Regions from separate parts of the Homo sapiens genome. Here region 2 is linked to region 1. Evidence: promoter capture Hi-C in 16 types of primary human blood cells and fetal thymus (Javierre and others, 2016). All regions are on one chromosome and are shown on one strand. Each heading gives the region's core, a stretch centred on a gene start or on the middle of the fragment in contact. The rest is flanking DNA. Distances are from core to core; before and after follow the strand shown. Region 1 holds the start of PNPT1 (polyribonucleotide nucleotidyltransferase 1). Region 2 holds the start of SMC6 (structural maintenance of chromosomes 6).

What was found. The method cuts DNA at HindIII sites, captures the fragments that hold promoters and counts their contacts. A CHiCAGO score of 5 or more calls a contact.
Region 2: the fragment with the promoter of SMC6 here is called in contact with the fragment with the promoter of PNPT1 in region 1 in 1 of 17 cell types (naive CD8 T cells); the score reaches 6.7 in naive CD8 T cells.

Annotation. Positions count from the first base shown.
Region 1 is chr2:55,692,364-55,695,366 of GRCh38, forward strand. PNPT1 (polyribonucleotide nucleotidyltransferase 1) reads right to left here and starts at 1,481. Exons shown (of 28, transcript NM_033109.5): 1 at 1,300-1,481. The coding sequence starts at 1,460. RefSeq lists a silencer at 671-730 and enhancers at 1,301-1,420, 1,431-1,490, 1,521-1,670. The HindIII fragment of the contact is 6,564 bases long and covers 1-3,003 here.
Region 2 is chr2:17,752,341-17,755,343 of GRCh38, forward strand. It overlaps SMC6 (structural maintenance of chromosomes 6), which reads right to left and starts at 1,470. Exons shown (of 28, transcript NM_001142286.2): 1 at 1,286-1,470; 2 at 638-724. It overlaps GEN1 (GEN1 Holliday junction 5' flap endonuclease), which reads left to right and starts at 1,798. Exons shown (of 14, transcript NM_001130009.3): 1 at 1,798-2,005. RefSeq lists silencers at 946-1,305, 1,446-1,585. The HindIII fragment of the contact is 9,742 bases long and covers 1-3,003 here.

The DNA of each region.
Region 1 (3,003 bases), core at 231-2,730:
CAAAGTTAGAGTGCGAGACCTGGATTCAAAATGATTTTTTTGCTTTTTGTATGAACTGGGGTCCAAATTTTTTCAAAGTACACGTAAAAAATTTAGATATATGAAGTTTGCATTAGCAATTCCATTTATTCTAAGAACGATTAAAGCAAACTTTTTTTTTAAAAAGCGGTCCCCTAAAAAAAAGTATGGGCTTTGTAAGCAAAAAACAGAAATTCAAAAACCACCTAGTCCCATAATACTAACTTTTTTATAGACTCTTAGAAAGTTATCTAACCTTTTTTGAGCCTCTGTAGTCTTAACTATAAAATGAGGGTAATAGTACCTTTACGACAGGTTTAAAAAGATTGCGAGGATCATATAACTGGCGTTCAAAAAACTGACTTTTCCTTTTCCTCCTAACCCAGGGTCATAGTGGTCACACTTTAGGCAATCAATTAGATTGGATGACATGATATCTTGTACTCCTAACTTCAAGTCATCCTTCCGTCTTAGCCTCCCAAAGTGCTGGGATTACAGGTGTGAGCGCCTGACCTTTTGCCATCTCTTTGCATCGATCTTTGCTTTTGTTTCTCTCTGTGTGTCTCCTTGCCTCTCTCCCTGTCACTGTCTCTCTCTCTCCCCTGCCTCCCTCTTGGTCTCTTTTTTTTGCTGTCTCTTTCTGATGACCTTGTTCCCATCTCTGTGCGTGTGTGGCTCTCTCCCTGTCCATCTCTTACCATCTCTGCCTTCCTCTCCCAGGTCTTAAACGAATATTTCCACAATGTCTGTGAACTGGACCTGGTGTTCAACTTCTACAAGGTAGGCTCCTGGTGAAGAGGAGGCTGAAGGAGCCCGAGGAGTGGGACGTGGGGGACCCGTGGTGCACTAGCCACCCGGAGCCTCTGCTGAGGTCTGTGTCCCAGCTCGAGGGGCATCAGAGCCCCAGCTTCCAGGGTCCGGGCCAGCATCCCGGGGGGCCTCGTCTCACCCACGTCAACTCGTTATTCCTAGGTGGAATGTTTCCCACTTAAGAGCCCAGTGGTCCCGGAAAGTAAAGAGATCGGAAGTCAGGTGGACGGACAGAGTCGGATGGAGCAAAGAAGCCCGGCACACACCAACAGAGAGAACGACATAGCGCGGGAAGGAGGGTCCGAGGAGACACATTCCAAACCCGGAAAGGGAAATTTGGAATTTAGGTTTAGGGTAAGGAGAGATTAAATAGAGCTGGGATACCGGGTTTCTACCCTGGGAGATGAATACGCTCAAGCTGGCTGGACAAGACACCTTATGACAATACAGTGAACGCACGTCACTCCTTACCTGTTGCCTAAGTCCACGGCCACAGCTCGAGACCCTGCGCTACTCCATAGTGCTCGCACTTGCAACTGGGTGAGTGCCCGATCCCGCCGTGGCAGAAGGAAAGGACCATCGCTCAGGGGCCGGAGCCGGAGGCACGAGCAGCAGTACCTGCAGGCCGCCATGACACCCGGCACGCGGTCAACGCAGGCTGTGCCCTGATTGGCTCACTCCGCAGACCGTGGGGCGGAGCCTGATGGAGTTTCGTTTCCGCGGTGCCCGAGGGACGCCGGGGTAACGGAAACCTTGGCCACCTTCTACGAAGACTAGAGAGGGTCAAACCTATCAGAACGCGATTATGTTGCAAACGATCTTTGTCTTTATGTGCCAACGAAAGGCAATTAGATAAATAAGGTTTTTGTGTGTGTACTATCGTAATTTAAAGGAGAAGTCCTAGAATAATGTAAATGTTTAATATGCAGAGTAAATTTATATTTACTTTTAATACTAGAAGTCATAGAACAACACATTATTATTATTTGGATCTGTGAACTAAGAATTAGAATTTGGGTGGTGGGCCTTGGAAAGAGATCTCCTTCTCCCCTTCTCCGCCCTGGTTTTTATTTTAAAAATTTCACATAGCAGATATGTTACTACAGCGATTTGTGTTAACCAATTTACAGTAAATTCATTTTTCATCGACTTGTAATTTTAGAAATCTTTATTGTCACTTCTGATTCATTTTCATTTCCATTGCTAATAATTAGCAATTTATATTTCTGTCCCTTTTGGTCGAACTCTTAAATGCAAAATGCCAGCTACTGTTTGAAGTAAATATTTTGTAAAATGAAAAAAAAAAGTTTTTGGGATTTGAAAAATTTTTAGAGAATGGATAAATTTCTTCCACCCCATTAATCCATTCTGTTAGAAATTCTTTATGTTTTTCCTTGAATGAACCAATGGGCATTTTCATATTATGATGTAAATTTTTTGTGTAAGGTGATAACCGCCTTACCCCAAAGAAAACCAAACAACAAAAACCCAACACTCATTCAAACACAGTTTTAAGAATTAAAAACGTTGGCTGGACGCTGTGGCTCACGCCTGTAATCCCAGCACTTTGGGAGGCCGAGGCGGGCGGATCACCTGAGTTCGAGACCAGCCTGACCAACACAGAGAAACCCCGTCTCTACTAAAAATACAAAACTAGCCGGGCATGGTGGCTTATGCCTGTAATCCCAGCTACTCGGGAGGCTGAGGCAGGGGAATCGCTTGAACCCGGGAGGCGGAGGTTGCAGTGAGCCGAGATCGCGTCATTGCAACAAGAGTGAAACTCGGTCTCAAAAAAAAAAAAAAAAAAAAAAAAAAAAAAAGTCCGGGCGCAGTGGCTCATGCCTGTAATCCCAGCACGCTGGGAGGCAGAGGCGGGTGGATCACGAGGTCAAGAGACCCAGGGCATCCTGGCCAACATGCTGAAACCGCGTCTCTACTAAAAATACAAAAATTAGCTCGGTGTGGTGGCGCGTGCCTGTAATCCCAGCTACTCCAGAGGCTGAGGCATGAGAATCGCTTGAATCCAGGAGGCGGAGGTTGCAGTGAGCCGAGATCGCGCCACTGCACTCCAGACCGAGACTCCATCTAAAAAAAAAAAAAAAAAAAAAAAAAATTAAAAATGTTGATCCGTGATGATTTAAAAAAGAAAAAAGAATGATGAGCTCTAAACAGACA
Region 2 (3,003 bases), core at 220-2,719, about 38 Mb before region 1:
GGGAATAATGACAAGAACAAAAAAAAGTCTGTGCAACCATCCACTTTTTTTCCTCTGAAATATTTTCAGTCCCTTGATTGAGTCCACGGATACAGAGGATGCACTGATAACTGTATTATTTCTTCCAACTTGCATAAGAAGAACTGAAACTTAAAGAGGTGGTACCAACCTGCTCAGAGTCACACAATTCTGGCTTTTTGTGATATAAATACACGCTTTTAGGCAATATACTAGTGGCCTCCAAACGTTTTGTACTTGCACCCATTAAGCAAAAGAAATTTGAAATACATGTTCCAACATAAAATTAATACCCTATGTTTCACGTAGAAATCAAATGAAATAAATCTAAATAGAAGTTCTAATATGTTCCCTCTCTACCCACACACCCATGGAACAAACTGCATGCCACTGTATATACTATTGTACATGTTAAAAGATCACACTGCAACCATATAAAAGTCAGGAGATTTGGGTTTTTCTTTTTTCCTTTGAATATATATTACTGAGAAGTTTGCCTTTAAAACACTGGCTTTTAATCTACTACTCGTGACATATGCAGAGTAATAAGCGCTCACAAAACTTCTGTCTTGAGGGCTCAAACACCAAATGATTGCTCTAAGAATTTTCACAGTATTACCTCAAACCCTATTGGTTCTACAACCTTTCTCTACCCTAGAGTCCTGTTTTCCGCAATTCCCAATTGGGATTCTTCTCCGGTTCATTTCTGTAAGAAATGAGGGCAGAGAAATGCCATCAGTAAACCTTTGAACACATGTTAATTTTTCTAGGTAATACAATTTGCATTTTCGTAAAACTGGGCTTTAATGACAAATCCGATTTCAGTGATCTTTGCATACACCCTTTAAACACACCAGTTGCCGCCTGCGAGATATCATCAGACTCATGCTAAGAGCCACTCCCTACCCCAGCTTTCCCCAGACCTCTCCCCGCTTTACAGTTATTCGCCACAGCCCGGGAGAGTCTGGGGACGGCCGCCTGGGAGGGGACGGCCGCCTGGGAGGGGACGGCCCGGAGCAGACGCCAGGTTTCCCGCGGCTCAGGAGACCGGTGCCGCCTCGGAGAGCGCGCGAAGGTGCCGCCGGCCGCCCGACCCGCCCGAGGAACGGACATCTCCCGCCCGGGCCCGCAAGGACGACCATGAACACCGCCGCAGCTCAGCTGACCCTGCCTCTCCCGGGTGGCTGGGGGTCGCCAGCCAAGGGGGCAGCGGGCGGAGGATGAACCCCGGAGCAAGGGAAAGCGACAGCGCGCGCCTTCACCCTACCGCCAACAAGTCGAAGTCTCCCAAAGGAACCTGATCGGCGGGGCTGCCGTGGTACGACCGGCCGCTAAGGCCACCCTGCGGGCGTCTCGACCTCGGCTGACCGCCGCTGGCCCCCTGGGAACCGCGTGCCGGCCGCAGGAGAAGGTAGATTCCCGGGAGCCCCGGCGCCCACCGCGGTACTAACCGCGCCTGCGCCCCGCCCTCCCTCCCTTCGGGCTCCGCCCGCGCCTGCGCAGTTGCGGGGTTTCGCGCCGCCGGAGTCTGAGAGGCCGGAAGTGCCCCTTAGCGGGTGGGGGAAGCTGGTAGGCACGGGCGGCTCCGCAGTGACCGGACTCGGGGGAGGTGAGTGATTTGCCTAAGTAAAAGGGAAAGATAATTGAGCGCCCCCGGCAGCTGGTCTACGCATGCGTCCGCTAGGCCGGCTGGGAGCCGGCAAGGGAAAGCCGAGCGGGCCCCATTGGGGGAAAGGGGTCAGTCACTTCCCGGAAGAGGCGGGGCCGCGCGGGCCCGGCGCTGGATTCGAAACGCTTCCTGGTGCTCCTGGGCCTGGCGGTTGAGCCCGGGGAGCTAGTCTTTGCTTGGGTAAAGAAAGAGGACTTTCCTTTTTTTTTTTCCTTTTGAGAAAATTCAGAAATTTGGAGGCACAGTAGTTAGGATTCAGGCCAAACTGGTAAATGACGAAGGGGCTTCTTCCAGAGCCAAGGAGGAAGGGTTGTCCGGGTAAGTCCCGCGGGACGTGGAGAGACGGCGCCGCCCGGGTCCTCCCACTGATTCCTTTGACCATCTGGCTTACGGACGAGCTCTTTGTTCGCTGCTCCTCCGAAAACGCCTTCAATGACTCCCTTTGAATAAAGTAGGAAGTCCGAACCGAGCCGCCAGGCCGCGACTTGGCCCCTGTTTTCCACTCGCGAGGGCCCTGCGTCACCCCGCCTCGGGAAAGCTGCGCGTTCTCCGGCCGCTTGCGCTTGGCCGAAGCTGCTGGGTCCCGCTGTGCTTCCCCCGGGCATGCGATGGGGATAATTCCCACGCCTCGCTCAAAGCCATCCCGGGAGAGCCCTCCCTGGTCCCCATAGGCACAGTTGGGTGTTCCCTTTTCCGTGTTAACCTTGTATTTCGGATATAGTTCTGTTATAGTAATTACTTTAAGGTATTGTAGTTATTTACAATCAGTCTTTCCCCCACGGTAACCTAGAGTGTAAACCCCCTAAATAAACGTCAGAAGTAATGAAGTCTTAACTTCCTTGGCTTAGGTTTCAGCGCCCTTCTCAACCCCACACTCCCGCTTCAGTCTTTACACAACCCTTCCCATGAATATGCTGACCTAACAAGTAACCTACTTTTCATACTCCAAAATCTTCTCTTCTGTGTGGGGAAAATAATGCATTGACTGCCACCTCACTCCACCTCCAAATAAATTGATGTTGAAATTCTGGCCTCCGGTAATGGAATTCTTTACATCAAAGTCACTTTTTATTTCTAAAAGTAATCACATATATATTATATTCCTACTGTGGCCCTTGCCATGGATCAACGAAAAATATGACATAGTCAAAATAGACCAAAACATCTGGCCTTGTTGTAACCAATGGGAAACACGGTTGGGAGGTCCCTACTTACATGTCACTTGCTTCAGGAACCGTTCCTTGATTCCTAAGTGGGGGACCTTTTTTCCTAAATACAACTATAGCTTGCTTTCTTACCTCTTAAGCCCTTTTTAT